4 separate regions of the Homo sapiens genome follow, and regions 1, 2 and 3 are each linked to region 4. The links are contacts of gene promoters, found by promoter capture Hi-C in blood cells and fetal thymus (Javierre and others, 2016). All regions are on one chromosome and are shown on one strand. Each heading gives the region's core, a stretch centred on a gene start or on the middle of the fragment in contact. The rest is flanking DNA. Distances are from core to core; before and after follow the strand shown.

Region 1 (5,458 bases), core at 1,203-3,702, 3.1 Mb before region 4:
AAGTAATCTCTACCATGACAAATAATACCCTTCATAAAGGCTTATTCCTTTGCATGCATCTCTAGTCATTTTCAGCCCAGCAATAACAGACTTTGAATCTTCTGTACCTCACTCGAGCTCTCTTTTACCTTAACCCTGCCTTTGCATATTCTACATGCTCAGTCTGGAATGCCCTTCACTGCTCCTCCTTCCCTCCTTGCCTGGGTAATTCCTATTTGTTCAATATTCAGCTTAAGCAATATTTCTTCTGGGAAGTATTCCATTAGAACTAAGTTTAAGAGGCCCTCCTGTGTGCTCTGAATTCCTCCATGCTTATACCTATGGTAATAATAATTCTCAAACATTTTGGTCTTGAGTCCCTTTACATTCTTAAAGATTATTAAGGACTGTAAAATGCTTTTATTACTATCCACATTATAAATTAAACCTGAGAAATTTGGTATTTTGAGATTCATTTAAAAATAATTATAAGCCCATTATGTTAATAGAAATGACGCATTTTTTTCTTAGAAACCGAGATTGAAGGCAAAATGATGCATTTTTATGATAAAATATTTTTCCAAAAAATTGGTGAGAAGAGTGGCATTGTTTTACATTTTTCAAACCTTTTTAATGTCTGCTTTAATAGAAGACAGCTGAATTCTCCTATCTATGTATTCTTTATTTTTTTCCAACTTTTATTGTAGGTCCAGGGGTACATGTGAAGGTTTGTTACATAGATAAATTCATGTCATGGGGGTTTGTTGTACAGATTATTTCATCATCCAGGTATTAAGCCCAGTGCTCAATAATTTTTTCTGCTCCTCTCCCTCCTTCCACCCTCCACCCTCAAGTAGACCACAGTGACTGACGTTTCCTTCTTTGTGATCATGAGTTTTCTGTGTATTCGATCTGTTGTGATATGTTTTGGTTGAAATATATGAGGGAAATCTGATCTCATAAAGATAAGGTGTTGGAAAAGGGAAAACTACTTTATAGCCTTTCCAGATAGTTCTAGATATTATTCTTTGATACGGTACCAAACTTACATGTGGTAGTTTCTTAGCCTTCATTGCAGTGTGGACTGAATCTGAAACCACATCAATTAAGCACTGAAATCCATCAATCTATCTTGCACATACCAGAGGCTTTTTGCCTTTGTAATGGCACCCACTGGCCATTTGAAAAATAGGTGTCCACTAAGTTGTAAAGATCACAAAAATGTTGACATATTTCATTATATAGTCAAAAATAAATTGTTAATATAATGCTTCTTTTACTAGAAAAGTCTTTAAGTACTGGCAAGCTGTCAAGCTCAAGCTGGTGGATACAAGTGTAATAAAATTTGTATTTTTAGGTGAAAATTCAAAGAATTACACTAGTGCTTTTTCCGGAGACAACCATTTCACTTGGGCATGTAGCGGCAGTAGTTTCCATTTTTTCACACATATTCTTTAAAAGACGTGTAAGCAAGGATGGATTTGAAAAAAAAATACAATTTTTAGTTATTTGTGAAGGACATTTTTAAAGTGAAACTAGCATACTTTAAAACCTTAAATGTTGTATGATGTGAAGAATACAAAATGCAACTACCAGTACAAGACTGGCGCCACTGCCTTGATTGCTGCTAAGGTGTCAGCAGTTTAATCTTTTACGTTACCAGTGCAAATGGCAACAAAGTGAAAAAGGTCAAGAAACTCTTAATATTATTACGAAAATCGTTTTGACCTTGCCAACTTACTGAAAAGGTCTCGGTACCCTTAGGGATCTGCGGAGGGCATTTTGGGAGCAGCTGCCATGGACTCACTACTGTTGTCTCTCATTAGGTTGCAAGTTCTATGTGAACTGTCTTTAACTGTCTGTTACGTGCCCTTGCCTAATAGTGCCTGGGACATAGCACTCAATAAACATCAACACCTGTGGAACGAGGGAATTAAAAACAGGTTATAAACAACCCCTGCACAGCCTTCATCTTACTGCCTCTTTCCTTAATTCAACCTGAACCTACGCATTTTGTAAAATTTTGTTTTTTTCACAATTAGGACGCCTGCCAACTTTTAAAAATAGTTGGAGTTGGGGTGCTGCCTGTATGTGATAAGGCTGCCCTATAGTTTGGTCAAGTGTTCTTCCGTGTTGTCCAAGAGTCATTCCTTCTTTACAGTCCCGCACCAGTAGGCCAGGCCGCTTGGTTTCCCAATCCGAGACCGGAAGGAACCGGGTAGACATGAGCACAAGACTCTCATCGACTTTTGGGGAAAACAAAAACACCGATAAAAATCCAGGCGGTGAAACGAGCAGCAACAGCCCCAGGGACCCGGGAGCTGGAGGCCGCAGCCGCGCGAGAACCGCCGGGTTGCCGGGGCGACGCTTCCGGCTGGCGCGCGCAGCCCCGGGAGCAGGGGAGTTGTGAAATGGGCGGCTAGATCTGCCCGGCGCTGTGAATTCGCCAGCGGGAGCGCGCTCGCGGCCGCGCGTTCTCCGCTTTCCCGGCTCCGTCGCTGACGCGTCGTAGACGTTGGGGAGCGGGAAGGCAACGGCAGCGGGATCGGGATGAACAGCGGCGGCGGCTTCGGTTTGGGCTTAGGCTTCGGCCTCACCCCCACGTCGGTGATTCAGGTGACGAATCTGTCGTCGGCGGTGACCAGCGAGCAGATGCGGACGCTTTTTTCCTTCCTAGGAGAAATCGAGGAGCTGCGGCTCTACCCCCCGGAGTAAGTGCTGGAGCTCGGCTGGGGGAGGGGCGCGGGCGCCATAGAGACCTCGGGAGCCGAGGCGTGGAGGAGAGCGCGGACGCGGGCGCGCGGTGCATGTCACGTGATCGCGCCGGCTTACCTTGGTGCCCATATTTGATTAGGGCACCCGGGTTCCGCCGTCCTGCTCTCCTTAGTCGGATTTGGGGGGTTAACTACTGCACGGAGCCCTTACCAAGGATTTAGAATGGTTGCCCTTTCTGTGCCTCCGGGACTTGTGTTCGCTGCTGGGTCTTCGAATTCCGTGCCCCCACCCTCTTATTTCCCCCCGAACTTAAGATGGCCGCAGGTGGGCCCGGAACAGCCCTCATGGCAAACGTCTCAGAGCGTTTTTCCACTCTGAAAATCGCGGAGACCGCGCCTGAGCCACAGTCCAGTTTTTAAGGCCTTGGTGTCAGGCCGTTTTGCTGACGAGAAAGCCTGCTGCTGGTGACAAGATGGAACTGGGGCTGTGTTTGTTTCCCAGGACGGTCGCACAAACTTAGCATTTTGGTTTATCTAACCGAGCGCATCCATGTTCCCAAAGATCATGTCTGTTAGCCCTTTTGACAGCAGATTAAATTTTCCTCCTGAAAGGTCACACTGTCCCAAAGCTTTCAGAAAAAGTGTAAGTCGGTGCAGGGTTATCCCTCCCGTATACATTTAAAGTCCAGATCTTGGCTGGCATTCACAGCTCGCGGCCACTTCCCAGATAGTGTATTTTGGAATGGTAAAATTTCCCTCGTACGATATTATTTAGAAAACTCGCAAGGGGTTTGTAGGTTGTTCACATTCTTGCACACAAACTTTTTTTCTTTTTTAATGGTAGATCTTACAGTATTAAGATCCTCCGTTTTTTGTTCATTATATCAAAATCCTTTGAGGGAAGGGGTAATTGTTACCCAAGATTTATTTCTTTAAAAAAATTTTGATTTATTTCCTAGTGATGCATTTAGACCTATTTTTCTTTAGTTTTCTATCTCAGGTTATAACAGTGCTGTTGCATAACTATATAAAAGTTGTGTGGATATTTAAAATTTACTTTTTAAGTTTTTCTTCTCTGCTTTTTGTTTTGGAATATTTCATGCATACAGAAAAGTTGAAAGAGTAATACATTGAACATCCATGTTCCTTTTACGAGCATTTTGTCTGTTTTTGGCTACAGTTGATTATTAAAATTTCCCCAGTTATTTTAATAATGCTTTTTTGTCTGCTTTTGATCTAGTATGTAATTAGATAACACTGTCTCCCTTGAATATGCCAAGTAATCCATGTATTAATAGTTATCTCCTTTAATCTAGGACAGTCCCGTCCCCTTTTAAAGATTCTAAAGTCGTGACATTGATATTTTGTTTTGTAGTTCATTTTGTCTTGTAATATGACTCATAATCTGAGTTTATATAGATGAGATATATAGATGAGGTATATAGAGATATGTGTATATATATATCTTTATATTCGTGACGAGATTCAGGTAATACATTTTTGACGAGAATACTGCATAAGTGCACGCACGTACATTTTGATTGATTAACCGTGGCATTATTGCTTTAATTATCTTAACTTTTGGAAATGCTTTCAGCCATCTCAATTTAAGTTCTCAGAACATTTCTTAATAGTTGAGAATAATTGAGAATTGTTTGGGGGAGTGCCGTATCCTGCAGGCATTGGAATCAATCAGTAAAATACTTTGTACATGAACCTTTGTAAATCTTGCTTTCAAGGCTGTGGTAATAAGGTATCTCATAGGTAGAAGAAATATATTGGAGAATGTTCTTCATTATCAACATAATATTTATTTGGTTGAAACCTGGGTTTGGGTGACAACACATTGCCATAACTGACAGTAATGGGCCACTTTTTTGAAATCAGATGTTATTACTTGGAATTTAAAAGTCAAAGAGAATAAAAAGTTCTTCACTTAAACATATGGAAGATTACGGTAGTGTATTTCACAAACTGTAACACATTAAGCAAAATTGTTGCATACGTGTAATATATATAGGCCAGGCAAAATCCTTAACTAGTTTTTCCCTAAGTGCAATACTAGATCCCTCATTCATGTTTTGCAGCAATACTGACATGCTTTATTCACAGGTTTTCTGCTTCGTAATGAAGTTGTCATTGCCTGGTCCTTATATTAGAAGACGTGTTTGCAAATTTGGACTGAAATGGATACAAAATGCAATAGTAGTAGTTGTATTGAAAATATATTGTTTTGCAGTGTCACATAAATTATTTTATGACATCTTTAGAGTTGAGTAGAAATTTAAATTGTTTTAAAATTGGAAATATATTTATTTTCAAATACATATTTCCAGGTATATTGGAAATACATTAATAGAATGTGAAAATAGTTTCTCATTAAAATTTTATGATTGAGCCAGGTGTGGTGGTGTGCACCTATAGTCCTAGCTACTCAGGAGGCTGAGGTGGGAGAACAGCTTGAGCCCAGGAGTTTGATTCCAACCTGAGTAACATATTGAGACCCCTATCTCTTAAAAAAAAATGACTTAAATGACTTAAGTTGCTAATATGAAAATTCAGATTTTAAATTTAATTCTTTTGGCATGATGCAGTGGTTGAGTTTCATCTTTATCTTTTAAACGTTAAGAATTTTTTAAGGCTAGGGAATTCTTGTGAACATTCACTGTAAGCATTAAGAATTCTTATTTGTAGTTTGTCATCCTTTTTTTGTGCTGCCAGTTGATAAATATGTAGAATTACTATTAACTTTTTGCACAATAAAT
Region 2 (6,004 bases), core at 3,192-5,691, 3.3 Mb before region 4:
AATTAAATACTCAGTGATTAATAACAAAGATGAATTGTTGTTTGTGATTGCTGAACACTCTGATCATATACCTGCCATTTCACCCTTCTGTATGCACACAGATGCAGAATTCCAGAGAAAATACTTTTTAAACAGATTATTAAGGAAATATTTGACAAAATAGGTAACTACAGTTGACCTTTGACCACGCAGGGTTGACTGCATTGGTCAATGCAATTTTTTTTCAATAAATATATTGGACTTTTTTTTGAAGATTTGCAACAATTTGAAAAACTTGCAAACTGTGTAGCCTAGAAATACTGAAAATTTTTATATATGTCATGAATGCATAAAATATGTGTAGACACTAGTCTATTTTTATCATTTACTACCATAAAATATAAACAAACCTATCATAAAAAGTTAAAATTTATCAAAATGTAGGCACACACTTACAGACCAAACATGGTGCTATTTGTAGTGGGGAGAAATGTAAACAAATGTAAAGCTACAGTATTAAATCATAACTGCATAAAATTAACTGTCATGCAAACTGTACTACTGTAATAATTTCATAGCCACTGCTTGGTGCAATTGCAGCGAGCTTAAGTGTTGCCAGTATTCGCTTTAAGCTGTGTAATGCTAATCATCTCTGAGTGAGCAGTTCATCTCTCCAGTAAATTGCGTATTGCAGTAAAAAGTTCTCTCTCATGGTTCTCACGTATTTTCCATCATGTTTAGTGCAATACTGCAAAACTTTAATAACACTATGGCATCCATACGAAGCACCACTGGTGATGCTGGAAGTGTTCCCATGAAGCAAAGTCATGACATTACAAGAAAAAGTTGAACTGCTTGATATGTACCATAGACTGAGGCCTGCAGCTGAGGTTGCCTGGTATTTCAGACAGACAATTCATCTTGTAAACAGACAATGTAAACTTATGGTATGGACATAGTACATTACTGTGAATGTAGTTTCTCTTCCTTATGATTTTCTTAATAACATTTATTTCTCTACTTACTGTAGGAAGACAGTACATAATACATATAAGATACAAGCAATGTGTTAATCAACTGTTTTATGTTATCAGGCTTCTGGTCAGTAGTAGGCTTATTAGTAGTTGTTCAGTTTTGGGAGAGTCAAATGTTATATGCTCACATAGTTGGTTGGTGCCCCTAAATTCCATATTATTCAAGGGTCAACTGTATTGACAAGTGTATCCTGGATTCCATCCTCCTTTCTTGGTTTTGTAGAGACAAGGTCTCACCATGTTGTCCAGGCTGATCTTGAACCCCTAGGCTCAAGCAATCCTCCCGCCTCAGCCTCCAAAGTGCTGGGATTACAGGTGCGAGCCACTGCAACCGGCCAGATTCCATCCTCTTAAGGCCAGTGTATTAGGTGGCTCATTCTTACAGTATGAGTAAGCAGGACTTATTTAGCCATCAAAAGGGTCCTTTTATTGCCTGTAATCCTCTACTCTCTATATAACGCTCCAAGGAATGAGACTATATTTCCGTCTCCTATCAACTCAGCCTCAGCATATGTTATCTCTAGTTATCTCTATTTTTCCCTTCCAACAAAAGCTGCTTTGGGGAAACAATCTGATGAATTAGGTATAAATGACTAATAAGGATTAAAATATTACTTTTCCCAGGATTATGGTTTTGTGCTAGAGAAAAAAACTACTTAAAGGGATAAAACTCTAATGGCAGAATTTCAGGTGAGTTGGAGGGTTTTTGATTATAGGTACTTTTCTAGCCTAGATGGTAGTCTGTCAGATTGGTCCTGAGTGTGAGTATAAATTTTAAAAAGGCTAGGACCAGGGCAAGTCTTAGCCTAAAGCAGTGGCTTGATCAGTTAAGTTTAGAGAGGAGGGTTAGGTTTACTCGAATCTATGGCATCACATTTAAAGGGGTCTCGAATCAACCTGAGATTAGAAGCAACACTGGAATCCCAGAATCTAGCTGGTTTTCCACTAGTATGGGAGATATTCCATCCTGGGATGCTTTAGGAGAGTGACCCTTTCAGTTCAGAGCTATGCCACTGAGTTCTGATCAGGCGCAAAACGGTTTTTGAAAACGGAGCAAGAAATCTTCCCAGCGATGATTACAAATAGCTTGTACAATATGCTAACTTTAGCTTTTTATGCAATGGTTAAGATTCATTTTCACATAGATATCCAGCTTGGTAACACTGGCATAGCTGCTGCCATTTCCTAGCTTCCAGCGAATACTCTTACCTCTAATTCAGCACTGAATATATCTGAACACTTCAGTACTACCTGTAAATCTTCAACTTCTGCTGTATGCTAAATAACCTAACATCTGTATTAATTCCAGCAGTTCTTCAAGTAGTTAAAAATGCTCCCAACCTGAATAAAATGACTTGAATATCTTCGGCGTTATTTCAAGTGTTTGCAACTAATGTACAACTCATTTTGGTAAATGATTACTTGGTGGAATTTATGAACTCTTTCCATTGGCAAGCCAAAAAAAAAAAAAAAAAAAAGGTCTGTAGGGGATATAGCTCTTTATTCAAACTTGGTAATAAATAATTATCTCTAGAATACAGACGGAAGAACTGAACCAGGGACTTCAGGGACCCAGAGGCTAATTATCATCACTGTACACAGTTAAGTGCAGCAGAGAATGGGGGTGACGAATGGTTCGCTCCGCATTACGCTCCTTCTCTGGGTAAAACAAGGCCGTCTTTTCTGTGAACATATTTAAAGCAAGAACTGCAAAAACTGTGCAATGTTATGGTTGAGGCTTTCTATTTGCCATATGTGTTGACAGAATGCTTAAGAGTCTCTCTCCGCAATAAACGCGAACCCTGCCAGGCTGAATTATTAGGGCCAGCGCAATTCAACGACTGCACCACCACCGAACCGCTGGGGTTGGAAGCCTGCGTCGCATCGGAGCGTACCCATGTTTCTTCTAACAAAGGCACGATCTTGAGGCCATTTCGCGGGCCCTTTTCCCACTCCCAGCGCCAGCTTTGTCTCCCCGCCGGTATGAGGCTGAGACTTGGAGGAGGCTGAGCTGCGCCGCTGGGGAACAAGCTCGAAGGGCGGGCGTGGGAAGCTGCACCGCGCTGCCGCTGTGGTTTCCTGCGACCTGACCGTGCCATTAGAGGAAGTTGGAGTGCTGCAGCTGCAAGAGATACCTGCTGCCTTCAAATCAGGGCTGGACTCCAACAACCCCTGTGCACCGATTACTGTCGTACAAAGAAACTCCATCGGCCGGCGCGGCGGAGGCCTGTGGGCTCTCTATCTCTCTGGCTGGGCGCTGGGCCGCGAGCAGACAGCAGGGTCGGCGTTGCCAGCGTTCCCCACCCTGGGGGGCTCGGGAGTCCGGGAGTGCGGGGTCGGGGAGCGGGCAGGGAGCAGCGGGCAGGCCTCGAGGGGCCTGGGCCAGAGTGGGCCTCACGGCGCGCCTTGCACGCGAACCCACGGCCGCCGGCTGCCCCTCCCCCGGCCCCCGGCCCGCTGCCCCCAGCCGCCGACGTCGGCCCGCACCGCCCCCGCGCGCTGACTGGCCCGCGCAGGCCTCCTGCCCGGCTGTTGGCGGTTGGGGCGAAGCCGGCGGGAGGCCGCCCCGCCCCCGCCCCCGCCGCAGAGTCGCGGCGCGCAGCCTCTTCACCCGTCGCGGCCGGGGCGGTGGCGCTGTTGCCGCCGCGGCCTGTGAGGCAGTAACTCCCCTCCGCCCCTGCCCCATTCCTCCTCCTTTCTCTCCGCTCCCTCCGTCCTCCCTCCCCTCGCCGTCTCTCGCTCGAGTGAATGTGGCGCGGCGGCGCGGGACGCAGTCTCGGCCCCTGCCGCGGCCCCGCAAGCTCGTGAGGAGACGGAGCTGCCTCCTGCTCCCGCCCCCTGCGCGTCTCGGGGAGCCACCGCCGCTGGCGAAGGAGAACAAGCAGGGCAGCGGAGGGACGGTGGCGGGAAAACGGGAGAGGGAGGAGAAGAGGGTTCGAGGGCGAGTAGGGAAAGCGGGGAGGGACGGACGGAAGGACGGACGGCCCGACGGACGGCCCGGGGAGGGGGCCGCTATTGAGCCTGCCCGACTCCTCGGCTCCGGCTCCGGGTGGCGGCGGCAGCGGCGTCGCGGACGAAGGGCGCGGCAAGCGCTATCGAGACAATAACCCTGCCGCCCGGCTCTGGGGGCAACGGAGAGGAAGCGGTGGCGGCCTAGCGCGGCCGAGGCTCGCCGAGCGCCCGGGCAGCGTCCTCGCCCCCGCCGGCCGGGTGCTGCTGCCGTCCGGTGTGCCGGGCGCGCCGGTTGCCCGGAACCCGAGGCTCCCGGCGGCCGTCCCCTCCCCTCCCCCTCTCCGGTGCGCGCGGAGCTGGTTTTCCGGGTTCCCCTGGACGGAGCTGGATCCTGCTTCTCGCCAAGGCAGGAAGTGAGTTTCGCACTGCAATTCCGGGCGGTGTCACGAGTGAAAAGTTTTGTTTTTTTTTTTTTCGGCGGAGATCCTCGTTGGGGCTGGGAAACTCCTGCAAAACTCGAGACCAGGAAGCCAGCCCGCACCCCAACCCCCACCAAAGCCACCTACTCTTCTTCTGTGGGAGGCCAGTCCACATCCGCTCTCACCCGAGAGAGATATTCAGCTGGATCCAAAGTGACTGATGAAGGGAAGGAAATCATGTCAAGCGAAGCCTTGAAAAAGCTGCCCTGAGACGGTGTCCCGCCGAAAGGTAATTTTCACGAAAAGTGTCTCTGAGTCACAAAGTTCATGGGACTTTGTGACTCGGAAAAGAGATGATTCTTTAGTGTTTTTCACTCTTCTCCAAGTTGCCCTAAACCCTCCTTTTCTCATATCGAAGCGGTTAATAATTGAGGGGCTAAATAATCGAACTGCACCCCACCGCGTCCCTTCTCCCCCCTGCCCCCCCCACCATCTGGACTTTGAATTTTTTGGAAGAGGTTGTAAGAATGCGGTGGGACGAAAAGTTTTTAGTAATCCGAAGAACGATTGCCTTTGTTCAGCACAGGGGCCAGAAGTTTTGGCTTTCTGGAACGTATAGAGTGTATATTAAGTTGCTCAGCCAGGCACCTTCTGTTTGGGAAGAAAGTTTGGTCGCTGCAGTGAGTGATTTGCTGTTATTGAGATGGCTGCCGCGTTTGTTTATACTCATACCGATTATATTGGCGCTTGCGTTAATTGTATATAGAGGTATTTATTTTTATTTTTTTATTTCCAACCCTGATCAGTATATTTAGTTAGATTTTAGAAACCAAAAAATCTTGCCATTCTTAGTTGTTTTTCAGGGTGAGTAATATATTTCTTTAGTTGTGTGTAGTGTGTGTTTTTCAGACGTTTAGCGCCGTATAACTTGTTTAATTAATTGAAAGCAAGGATCGACTAGGCTTTTCTTGTAACTGATCCATTACGAAGAAAAAAGGAGTAAGGACTAAGAATAGGGAGAGATAATTAAACAACATTAACAACCTGTAAGACGTTTAATAGGACTTCTGTACAGTTCAGAACAGACGATGGGAGGGGAAGTAAAACGCTTAAAACGATTTTCAAGGGAATCACAGTGATTGTGATAAAAAGCTGTGCTTTTCGAGTAGTATGGTCTTTACATTTTTGTGTTGTCCCAAATGTTTTTGGTCGGTTCTGCATAAATAGTGATAGGTTCTGCCTACATCTGTGGGGGCAGGATTCATGAAGCATGGCAGACATTCCACCAGTCAGAGCTATGAACACTTCTGAACCAATGGGGACTAGTTTTGATAGCAGTAAACCCAAAGTTTTTTTCAGTGGTGTTTTAGTCTTTTTCTGTTTACTTTTTTTCCCGGTATTTTTGCGGTACAGGGAGGTGAAATACAATACTGTACTTTTGAATATATATTGAATAAATTTGGTAATCCTGTTGGTAGGTATATCCTAAATATATATTGATGTTTAGATTGCCTATGCTGTCTCACGTAATGACCGGAAACCCGAGGAGAGAGTTGATTTTCTTTAGTTCAAAGAGAAAAAATAAGTTTTAAAGATCAGGATCAAATTATTTCACAATTT
Region 3 (5,739 bases), core at 2,507-5,006, 3.5 Mb before region 4:
AGAACCACTGATCTAGAATATGATCAAGTGTTTGAGATCACTGGATGAGGTCAATAACTGAGAGCCAGGGAACTAAAATAATCATCAATCAGTATATTGCAATTGCCAAGAACTAAATAGGAGTAGTGCTAGAGAGAGTGACAGTGAGCAGGAACCACAATTAGTCAAGGAATGAAGCAAATGTCAGTAGATGACAATAATTAAGAGGAGTGGGTGACATAATCTGATGGCAAGACAAAGCTGATGATATACCAGCTTCACAGTAGTGGTAAAGCTGGTATTAGAACTGAGGCTTCTTTCCTAGGGCTTTTAAAAATGTCTAGAAGGTGGGCAGACACCTCCACATGATTTCATGTTCAATTAAATTAGACTCACAGAGTCAAAAATAGGGGTCAGTCAAAAACAATTGGCACCCTTTCTGACTGCCATATATAACAAACAGCTGAAGGCACATATTTTTGGCTGAATACCATCCTAAAAATAGGACATAACATCTTGGTTTGAAAAAAAAACCCTCAATTTTCTTTCTGGCCCTTAAAACTTTTATGCTGCTTTTGATTAGAAAAGAAACATCTTTTCTTAAATGACTGCATTTATCTGTTTGCTACAGAGCAATCATAACTAACATTCTCCTTAGATAACCAATCAACTTTATTTTCACATAGTCTAATCATCAAGGAGAACAAAAAGACCTTAATATTAAATGGACTGATTGCAATGTTCTCCAACTGTGCATCACCTGCTCCTCTCACTGCCACCTGGAAAGACATCAACTAACCAGACTGCAAGGAGGTTTAGAGCAAATGCCCAATTTTCATCTCCACCTCCTAAAAGCATATTCACAGGGAAATGCTTGTTGAAATTATAGAAGCAGTTTCAAGATGGGATTTATAACTATACTGTCATTTATTAAGTTCTTCCAAATGCACTCTCACTGCAATAATTAAGACTTTGGGGCTGGGAGGGGTGGCTCATGCCTGTAATCTCAGTACTTTGGGAGGCCAAGGCGAGTGGATCACTTGAGCCCAGGAGTTTGAGAACAGCCTGGGCAACATGGCGAAACTCTGTCTCTACAAAAAAAAATACAAAACTTAGCCGGGTGTGGTAGTGTACTCCTGTAGTCCCAGCTACTCAGGAGGCCGAGGTGGGAGGATCAATTGAGCCCAGGAGGTGGAGGTTGCAGTGAGCCGAGATTGTGCCACTACACTCCAGCCTGGGTGACAGAGCCAGACAGACCCTGTCTCAAAAAATAAATAAATAAATAAAAGACTTTAGGCCACAGGGACACCAGATTCACTGAACCTCCACAAGCCCATCTGCAGAATTCTACCTTGTTATGGTTGTACTGAATTTAAATTTTATAACACATAAACATGAAGAACAAAGACGGTGTCGAGGAAACACATGATGCTATCACCCACATCCTGTTCAACTTTACAGATTACCGAATCCAATATTAAAGTTAACGTAAAACACAGGTGAAATGCTCCCATTTCAAGTTCCAAATTAGGCACTGGTCAGATCTCACTAGTGGTATAATTATTAGACTTTTACATAGTGCTATTAAAATGACTCAGGTATTTTTATATATTATTTCTAAACTGGATGCTTTCCTATTAGGAAATGGAGACAACAAGATCTTCAGAGTATTAACCAGGATTTAAATCTCAGCTTTATCACATATCAGCTGTGTTATCTGCTTACGCTATTTGGTTTCATTTTCTTTTTCTTTTTTTTTTTTTTTTTTTGAGATAGGGTCTCGCTCATGGCCCAGGCTGGAGTGCAGTGGTGTGATCTCAGCTCACTGCAACCTCCACCTCCTGGGTTTAAGCCACCCTCCTATCTCAGCCTCCTGAGTAGCTGGGACTACAGGCAAGTGCCACCACACCTGGCTACTTTTTGTATTTTTAGTAGAGACAGGGTTTTGCCATGTTGCCCAGCCTGGTCTTGAACTCCTGACCTCAAATGACCTACCTGCCTCGGCCTCCCAAAGTGCTGGGATTACAGGCATGAGCCACCAAGCCTGGCCCTGGTTTTATTTTCTCACTTGTTAAATGGGGATAATACTAACATAACAGTTGCTGTGAAGAAAAAATTGCCTATAATATGAACAGCATACTTCTGACATATAGTATTTGTTCAATAAATGAACAATAGTCCTCTTAATTTGTTGTTAAAACAAACAAAACAAGCTTCAGAAAATGGAAATACGATAACCTTATAGTCAGGCCTCTCCTCTTGAAAGATCAAAAAAAATTCTGATTATGTTACAATAGATCATCAAGTTGGGCTTACAGCTATTTTAGTCTTCGTTTATAATTATAATATAAATGAACACAAAGAGCAGATGCATACCTTCCAAACTTTCTTGTTCATCCGAGGTGTAAGTGTCCATCTGACTTTGTTCCCGTAAGAAACGAATAACTGCATAAACCAGGTGCTTGATAGATGACATTTTAGAAGCTTAAACACTTTTCCTTGATAAGAAAAATGAAAACACTGAACTAAGTTATTTTAAAGAATCAGTCAGGAAAGTCATAAATTACAAAGATGATATGGGTTATAAAGTGTATTAAAGGTAAAAACAAAACACAAAACTGTATGACCTTTCATCTTTTCTCTTTGTAAAGAGTCAGGAGAGCACAAAGTATTGTGAAGGTAATTTATTACATATTTTCATTAATACCCAGTGGTATACGAGTATGTTAAATCTTGGAATAAGTAAAAATGTCTTCAAAACATGTACAGCATAAGCTTAGACTGTCACTGCATATCTCACCATACAGAAATCCCCTAAAGGCCTCAGTACTAAGTTAAGAGGCATTTCATACTGCTGACTAAAAGCTGATGTATACCAAGCATCTTCCTCTTTTTCATGGGATCTAAAAAAAGTATTAATAATGTACACTCTACCCACTTTTGTAGGTTGAGAGTTATTTGATGAGGAAACACATTCGCGAAAGGTTATTCAAGTGGTGAGTGTCGTTCTTAATAAAAATGGCATTTCTATTTAATCAGCAGACATGTCAGGAAATCGCTGCCCAAGTCGATGGATACTACAAGCCGACCGGCGCTCCCTGCAGAGGCTGTGCTCTCGTGGACAAGCTGGAAGCTCCCGGTCATGTTCATTCACATGGAATACTATCGCATCCAAACAGTGGCGCAGGGCCAGGCGGCATTCATGGCTGATTTCCACCAAATCGCATCATCCATCTGCTCCCCAGGTTCCCTAATTCAAAGCCAGGGTGTGGTACCCGCCGCTATAATGTTTATTATTTGTGTAGTTATTTTAAAGGCGATGTCAGCCTCTAGGCCACGGGGTCATAAGCACTAAATAAGGCCCCAGGGCAGAAGGTAAAAACAGAATGGGGGGAAAAGGGGTGAGAAGAGGGAAATAGGCTTCTCCCCCTTCCTCTCCCCAGAGCGCATCGAGCTCCCCCTCCCTTCCGTCCTCCCTCAGGTACCCGGCCTCGCCTCGGCCCTGCCCGGTGTGCAGCGGGTGCCGGTGCGGGCCCCGGTCCGGAGCGGCGGGAGGCGCACCCTTGCCAGACAGAAGCCCCTTACCAAGCAGGAGGACGCGAGACGACTGCTGCTGGCCCGCGGGGTTCCGTAGGCAGGCCCGCCCGACCCCTGGTCCTCGGGGCTGGAGCCCGGCTCGGGATCGCAGCACTGGTCGCGGCGGCGCAAACTTCCCCGGCCCCTAGGCCGTAGACCCCAGAACCCACCAGGCTGTGCTCTCTCTCAGGCGGCAGGGTCTGGCCAGCACCGCCCCTGGGGCGGGGCCGGACGCGAGGGCTGGGGCGGGGCCAGACACGCGAGCTGGGGCGGGGCACGGCGCGGGGCGGGGCTGGTAGGCGCCGGCGTGGAGCTGCCGCACGTGGGAGGGCGCTGGCCAGGCAGCCACTGTGGCCTCTGCGGCTAGGCCGGCTCGAGACTCCCGGGCGCCCAGGCGCTGCCGCCCGCCTCGCCGCCCCACGCCGAAGGACCACGCGCCCGCCGCCGCCAGCCTCTCAGCGCTCCCATGATCGCCCGGTGCCTTTTGGCTGTGCGAAGCCTCCGCAGGTACCTCCAGCGCGCGGGTTAACCTTGGCCGTGGGCAGGGCGGGGTCTTTCGCCGTGTGGTGCCTGGAGCCCGGACCCACCCCTTCCCGACCGCGCCTCTCCGACGCTCCCGGGACGCACCCTCCCCGCGGCTTGCAAGGTGGACCCCTGGGGGACACCTGGCGCGGCCACCTGGGGCCACCTTTCCCGCCTCCGCTCCCTCGGGAGGACGTCCATTCCTCTTTGTTTGGGACTGCCTCAGCCGCAGTCAGCGAGGCTGGTCACAGACGCGGCCCAAAATGAATGCAAATAGTTTGGATAAGAAAATCATTTCACGTTCAATCCCAATGCAGAACTACAGACCTGTCATTAAAAGTGCCGCAGCTGTGGACTCAGAACAATTGTGTTTGCTCCTCGCGCCCATTATTAGCATTCCAATCGTTTAACATCCACCCGAGATGAAACCTCTTTGGTGGTGTTGCTTGTTTCCGTCCATGCTCTCTGACTTCCTTTTTTATTTTCCTCCTCCCCATAAAACAAACATTCTGCCTCTTGCCGGTGCAAATTGACTTGGCCCAAAATGGAGAAAATGATCGCTTGGACACGGCTTTGGGCAGCCTGAGCTGCTGTTTTGGATTGCTTCCTAGCCCTCTAACCACACCCCACTGCAACAGACCAGTAGCAAGATGGTGAGGGAATTAAATTCTTTGCACGGATGCGCTGGTTTTCGGAAACAATGCCGCCACCATCCCCGTTTCCAAATCTGCCCAGAACTGTAAATCCAAATGAAGATTCAACAGAATAAAGAAAATGTGTGCTTCTTGCTAGCTATCAACAAAACTACTTTGTAACATGTCAGCATTTAAGCTTTCTACAGTTCCCTTTTGCACATTGCCACTCGTCTGTGTGGATGGAGCTTTGTGTTGCTCAGTCCGTAGAGTTAGGGAGCAGGCAGGCGACAGTGGTTAATTACAAAGAGTTAATGTGGTGATTGGTGACCATATTTCAGCCTGTCGTTTTTTGCTAGTCTCCAGGCTGCAATCGATATAGCTGTCAAATGAAGTTATACCAAGAAATGAAGACTTCACATAATGCAGGGGTGAGAGGAGGGAATAAATCTTCATATAAGAGCAATTCTCGGCCGGGCGCTGTGGCTCATGCCTGTAATCCCAGCACTTTGGGAGGCCGAGGCGGGTGGATCACGAGGTCAGGAGATCGAGACCATCCTGGCTAACACGGTGAAACCCCGTCTCTACTAAAAAATACAAAAAATTAGCCGGGCGTGGTGGCGGGCGCCTGTAGTCCCAGCTACTCGGGAGGCTGAGGCAGGAGAATGGCATGAACCCGGGAGGCGAAGCTTGCAGTGAGCCGAGATCGCACCACTGTACTCTAGCCTGGGCGACAGAGCAAGACTCCGTCTCAAAAAAAAAAAAAAAAAAAAAAGAACAATTCTCAAACTTTTTATTCTCAGGACCCCTTTACCTTTCAAAAATTACCGTGGACCTAAGAGCTTCTGTTTGTGTGGTATATCTGTCTATATTTACCATATTAGACATTAAAGCTGGAAAAAAATTAAAGTAGTTGTTAATTTACAAAACTAATAAATAGGCTAGGTGCATAAATAGTGATTTTAATGAAAAATAACTATTTTCCAAACCAACCCCCCCGCCCCCCAATCAGTGAGAAGATTAACATTGT
Region 4 (5,835 bases), core at 2,282-4,781:
ATAGGCATACACCACCACGCTCAGCTAATTTTTTTTATTTTTAGTAGAGACAGGGTTTCACCGTGTTGGCCAGGCTGGCCTGGAATTCGTGACCTCAAGTGATCCGTCTGCCTCAGCCTCCCAAAGTGCTGGGATTACAGGTGTGAGCAACAAGCGTCCGATAAATGTATTTTGCATGTGAGTAGGACATAAATTTGGGGGGCCAAAGGCGGTAAGCTATGGTCTGACTGTGTCCTTCAAAATTCATCTATTGAAAATTGCTAATGTGACAATACGAAAAGGTATTGGAAATGATTAAATCATGAGTACAGAACCATCATGGATGAGATTAAGGCCCTTAAAAAAAGGTTTGAGGGCCAGGCACAATGGCTCACACCTGTAATCCCAGCATTTTGGGCGGCCAAAGTGGGCCGATCACCTGAGGTCAGGAGTTCAAAGCCAGCCTGTCCAACATGGCAAAACCCCATCTCTACTAAAAATACAAAAATTAGCTGGGTGTGGTAGAGGGCGCCTGTAATCCCAGCTACTTGGGAGGCTGCAACAGGAGAATCGCTTGAACCCAGGAGATGGAGGTTGCAGTGAGCCGAGATTGTGCCACTGCACTCCAGCCTGGGTGACAGAACAAGACTGTCTCAAAAAAAAAAAAAAAAAAAGTTTGAGGGAATGGGTTCCTTCTCTTCTGCCCTTCTGCCATGTGAGCACACAGTGTTAAACCCCTCGGATGAAGCAGTGTTCAAAGCACCATCTTGGAAGAAAAGACTGAGCCCTCACAAAACACCGAAACTGCTGGTACTTTGATCTTAGACTTTTGAGCCTCCTGAACATGAGAAATAAATTTCTGTGGTTATAAATTACCCATACTAAGGTATTTTGTTACAGTAGCACACATGGACTAACAGAGGAGCTAATCAACATTTATAGAATACTCCACCAAACAACAGCAGAACACTCTTTTCAAGTGCTTACAGAACATAAACAACATAGACCATATCCTGGATGACAAAATATCAACAAATATAAAAGAATTGAAATTATACAGACTGTGTTCTGACTACAAGGGAATCAAATGAGGAATCAGTAACAGTCAGATAACAGGAAAATTTCCAAATACTTGGAAACTGAACACACTTTTAAATGAGGCATAGGTCAAAGGAGTCTCAAATGAAAATTTTCTAAAAAGCATTGAACTGGGCCAGGTGCGGTGGCTCACACCTGTAATCCCAGCACTTTGGGAGGCCAAGGTGGGCGGATCACCTGAGGTCAGGAGTTTGAGATCATTCTGGCCAACACGGAGAAACCCTGTCTCTACTAAAAATACAAAAATTAGCTGGGCGTGGTGGTGGGCACCTGTAATCCCAGCCACTCAGGAGGATGAGGCAGGAGAATCAGTTGAACCCAGGAGGCAGAGGTTGCATTGAGCTGAGATCATGCCACTGCATCCAGCCTGGGTGTCACAGCGAGACTCTGTCTCAAAAAAAAAAAAAAATTATCGGCTGGGCACGGTGGCTCACACCTGTAATCCCAGCACTTTGGGAGGCTGAGGCGGGCAGATCACGAGGTCAGGAGATGGAGACTATCCTGGCTAACACAGTGAAACCCTGTCTCTACTAAAAATACAAAAAAAATTAGCCTGGTGTGGTGGCGGGTGCCTGTAGTCCCAGCTACCTGGGAGGCTGAGGTGGGAGAATGGTGTGAACCAGGGAGGCGGAGCTTGCAGTGAGCCGAGTTGGCACCACTGCACTCCAGCCTGGGTGACAGAGCAAGACTCTGTCTCAAAAAAAAAAAGAATTACCACAGATGAATGGATAAGCAAAATGTGGTATACACATATAATGGGATTTTTTCAGCCTTAAAAAAGAAATTCTGACACATTCTACAACATGAATGAACTCTGAAGACATGCTAAGTGAAACAAGCTAATTACAAAAGGACAAATACTGTTATGGCTCCACGTACATTAAGTACCCACAGTAGTCAAATTCATAGACAGAAAGTAAAATGATAGTTGTCAGAGGCTGAGGGAAGGAGGAATAAGTTTTTGTTTAATGGGTACAGTTTCTGAAGATGGTAACAATTGCCCAACAATGTGAATGTACTTAATGTGACTGAACTGCACATTTGAAAATAATTAAAATGGGGCCAGGCGCAGTGGCTCACGCCTGTAATACCAGCACTTAGGGAGGCTGAGGTGGGTGGATCACTTGAGGCCAGGAGTTGGAGATTAGTCTGGCCAATATGGTGAAACTCTGTCTCTACCAAAAATACAAAAATTAGCCAGGCGTGGTGGCGGGCGTCTGTAATCCCAGCTACTGGGGAGGCTGAGGCTGGAGAATTGCTTGAATCCAGGAGGCAAAGGTTGCAGTGACCTGAGATCACGCCACAGCACTCCAGGCTGGGCAACAGAGCGAGACTCCGTCTCAAAAAAAAAAAAAAAAACCACAAAAACAAAACAAAACAAAACGGGTTAATGGCCTCTCTGTAGTCACTGAATCCCAATAGACCATACCTGGGTTCAGTAATTTATATTTCTAAAAAGATCCCAAGACTTAGAAATCACTGATGTATATCATCAAACACATTGGTCAAGCTTACAATACTATATATAACCTAAGCATTATCACAGAACGTAATGTAACTTTTTTTTTTTTTGAGACGGAGTCTCCCTCTGTCGCTCAGGCCGGAGTGCAGTGGCACACTCTCGGCTTACTGCAACCTCTGCCTTCTGGGTTCAAGCAATTCTCCTGCCTCACCTCCTGAGTAGCTGGGACTACAGGCGCCCGCCACCACGCCCGGCTAATTTTTGTATTTTTAGTAGAGACAGGGTTTTACAATGTTGGCCAGTCTGGTGTCGAACTCCTGACCTCAAGTGATCCGCCCGCCTCAGCCTCCCAAAGTGCTGGCATTACAGGCGTGAGCCATAGCGCCCCGCCCGTAATGTAATTTTGGGGGAAAGATATGAGTGGCTTACATTTCAAATATTTCTGAATTTTTGAGTTATCTCAACTTGAAGCAAAGGCCCAGCAGTTCGATATCAGGAGTAATAAACGGTAAAGAAAACAGAAACAAATTACAATCAAGCAATGCCAATCAGCAAGAGAGTGTGACATGGCCCTTTTTAAGCCAGAGTAAACTCTTGTGAGCTTGCCACTAACTCCCATTTTAACGAAATTATTCATTTTAGGAAACCGCAAGGTTTTTTTTTTGTTTTTCTTTAATTTTTTTAATCTTTGCAAGAGCTGTCAGATAAGAAGGTTGTATTATTTATTTGGTTCCAGATAAAATTTTGAACTATATCGAAATTATAGACTGGCTTTCTGGAAAGGAAATGGTCCTAGACAATTTATAGGCTAATGAGCAGAGACCCACCTTAACAAAATTTTGTCCCCAAAACGAAACAATAGAACACACGTGGGTGGATCCTAGTAGGGAGAAGGGGTGGGCGGGGTCAGGCACAGGGGGCGGAGCCAGCCCCACGGCGGAGGAGAGCCCAGTCCGGTCTCCGCCTCCGTGACGTCCCGGGAAGCACCGCCCACAGCTGCCCGGGACTCCAGTGATCGCCGCGGCTCGCTCGCGCCCCGGAAACTGCCCCTTCTCGGGGGTCATGATGGGCAGCAAGATGGCGTCTGCTAGTAGGGTCGTTCAGGTAAAGCAATTTGTCGCGTTTCCGCATCTTGGGCGGTAGGGACGGTGCTGACTATGGCGACGGCGTCGGGGAGTAAAGGCGGTGGCAGAGGCAGAGCGGTGACCGCGCCTCTGCGGAGGGCCAGTGACGGCGCCCGCGGGTGTGTGTGAGGATGGGACTTTGAGCCTGTTGGACCGGGCAGTGAGGTGGGTCCGGCGCCGAGGGTTCGAGCCTTGCGGCAACCGTGCAGCATCTTGGCAGGTAGGTCCTGTACCTACTGCCGGGATCCCCCGCTCCTCCGCCAGGACCTTGTTAGTCTTAGGCGTGTGCGGGTGAGGCGACCCTGGCGGTAGCCTGGCCAATCGCCGTCTAGGATTGGCTGTGGTGCCCCCGATCAGCCAATCGGAAGGAAGGCGGTAGCGGGGCGTGGAAGGAAGCGAACCCTGGATCTGACCCACTGTCCCTTCAAGGTCTCGGGAATGGTCGGGCAACTGGCCCCGCGTACTGCGTCCTCGCCGGAGCGGGTTCTCCCCAACCTCTCCAAGCGTCTGGCTACAGGCCAGATGAGGGAAATAGAAAAGTAAACTTAAGTTTAATTAGTATGTGTGTGTGTATATTAATGTGTGTGTGTGTGTGTGTGTGTGTGTGTATAAGCGTTGGTTTCACAAGCCTATTTTCCCCTGGTTTAGATAGACAGCTAAAGTAACTTTGTTAATCCACCTATCAGCTACTAACTCCTGATAGCCTTTTTATTTGTTTCTTCAGCTGTGGTTCTAACTTAGGTAAAATTATTATATAAGTGGAACACAACCTCCACTTTTGTGGTTGGTTTACATAGTCTTTGAACCCTGAAACTATATTATTTTATAATTGACTTTTATCTTTGATATGAGAAGTACATTCCGCTTTATATAAGTACATCTCTTAAAAGACCTTTTTCTAAATTCCTGAAATTGTTGTCTGAATGATAATCCTAGATCCCAGTCTTTGGTCCCATTGCAATGAATGATCCTTACTTATTCAGTAGGTAGTTACTGAGCATCAACTAGTTAAAGATTCTGTAAGGACTGAGAGACTGACAAAGGTCTGTTATCCATAATATATAACCATATGTATCAATAATATATAACAATTTAAAAATGGGTAAAAGACTTGGCGTGTTGCACAAAAGATACCCAAATGAGCAATGAACATTTTAAAAGGTGCTCAATATCATTACTTGCCAGGAAAATAAAAATTAAAACCATGAGGTCCTACACATCCACCAAAATGACTAAAATTTAGACGTCAGTGGTGATGAGAATGTGAAGCGTCTGAAACCCTCAATATTGCTGGTGGGAATATAAAATGTTATAGCCACTTTGGAAAGCTGTCAGTCTCTAATAGTTAAGCATGTATCTACCGTATGACCCAGCAATTCTACTCATAGGTTTATTGCCCAAGAGAAGTGAATGCACATACTGTCTCTGTACGTAAATGTTCACAGAAAAAAAAGAGTTACTAGCAAAGAACTGGGGTCCAGAGCTGAGGGGTTCCAGCCTGGCAGCAGGAGTGTGGCATCTCAGCAGGCAGGTACTATATATACTGCCATGGGGTCCCTGGCTCTATTTCTGATAGCCCCCAAACCACAAACAATCTCTATGTCTGTCTTTTGCATAAACAAATTGTGGTAGTTTGTTAAAATAGTACAGTCCAAAGCAATACTAACAGCTGATGTGTGCAAACAAATGAAGAAACTGTGAGATATACAGTAAGGAATGGTCTGTGCCCTTCTAACATAGGAACAAAGACCTGTACTCACCTATTTAGAATTCAAATCAGGTTCGTGATTGCGCTCTTAAAAAAAAAGAAAAAAAGAGAGAATACAACCAATATGCTAATATAATATCACTTGAGCCTAGGAGTTTGACGCTGCAGTGAACCACAATCACCCCACTGCACCCCAGCCTGTGTAACAGAGCAAGACCTGGTCTCGAAAAATAAATAATAAAGTATGTGCTAATATTATGTAATAATTACATATAACATTAGCAAAATTTGTTGAGTATCTCTGTGACAGGCCTATAAAGCTAGGACTACAGTGCCAGTTAGAGTTTAGGCCAGGCTCACTGATGTATGCCTGTAATCCCAACACTTTGGTAGTTTGAGGCAGGAGGATGGCTTGAGCCCAGGAGTTCAAGACCAGCCTGGGCAAAATAGCAAGACCCCATCTC

What was found. Contacts are between HindIII fragments. The CHiCAGO score rates a contact against its expected background, and 5 or more counts as called.
Region 1: a contact is called between the fragment with the promoter of SREK1 here and the fragment with the promoter of KGD4 in region 4, in 1 of 17 cell types (activated CD4 T cells). The highest score is 5.6, in activated CD4 T cells.
Region 2: the fragment with the promoter of ERBIN here is called in contact with the fragment with the promoter of KGD4 in region 4 in 1 of 17 cell types (non-activated CD4 T cells); the score reaches 6.2 in non-activated CD4 T cells.
Region 3: a contact is called between the fragment with the promoter of SGTB here and the fragment with the promoter of KGD4 in region 4, in 6 of 17 cell types (naive CD8 T cells, activated CD4 T cells, total CD4 T cells and 3 more). The highest score is 15.9, in naive CD8 T cells.

The regions. Positions count from the first base shown.
Region 1 is chr5:66,141,848-66,147,305 of GRCh38, forward strand. It overlaps SREK1 (splicing regulatory glutamic acid and lysine rich protein 1), which reads left to right and starts at 2,453. Exons shown (of 12, transcript NM_001077199.3): 1 at 2,453-2,690. The coding sequence starts at 2,530. RefSeq lists a silencer at 2,234-2,303 and enhancers at 2,484-2,763, 3,024-3,083, 3,144-3,193. The HindIII fragment of the contact is 9,482 bases long and covers 1-3,320 here.
Region 2 is chr5:65,922,134-65,928,137 of GRCh38, forward strand. It overlaps ERBIN (erbb2 interacting protein), which reads left to right and starts at 4,442. Exons shown (of 26, transcript NM_001253697.2): 1 at 4,442-4,673. RefSeq lists enhancers at 2,542-3,166, 2,666-2,885, 3,791-4,415, 4,376-4,595 and a silencer at 3,206-4,295. The HindIII fragment of the contact is 7,086 bases long and covers 1-6,004 here.
Region 3 is chr5:65,718,353-65,724,091 of GRCh38, forward strand. It overlaps SGTB (small glutamine rich tetratricopeptide repeat co-chaperone beta), which reads right to left and starts at 3,757. Exons shown (of 11, transcript NM_019072.3): 1 at 3,565-3,757; 2 at 2,356-2,477. The coding sequence starts at 2,455. NLN (neurolysin) reads left to right here and starts at 3,853. Exons shown (of 13, transcript NM_020726.5): 1 at 3,853-4,062. The coding sequence starts at 4,022. RefSeq lists silencers at 1,087-1,283, 3,328-3,377, 3,438-3,487, 3,558-4,167 and enhancers at 4,444-5,265, 5,038-5,117. The HindIII fragment of the contact is 2,154 bases long and covers 2,753-4,906 here.
Region 4 is chr5:69,214,229-69,220,063 of GRCh38, forward strand. KGD4 (alpha-ketoglutarate dehydrogenase subunit 4) reads left to right here and starts at 3,532. Exons shown (of 4, transcript NM_033281.6): 1 at 3,532-3,643. The coding sequence starts at 3,602. RefSeq lists enhancers at 3,814-4,108, 5,757-5,835. The HindIII fragment of the contact is 5,941 bases long and covers 2,586-5,835 here.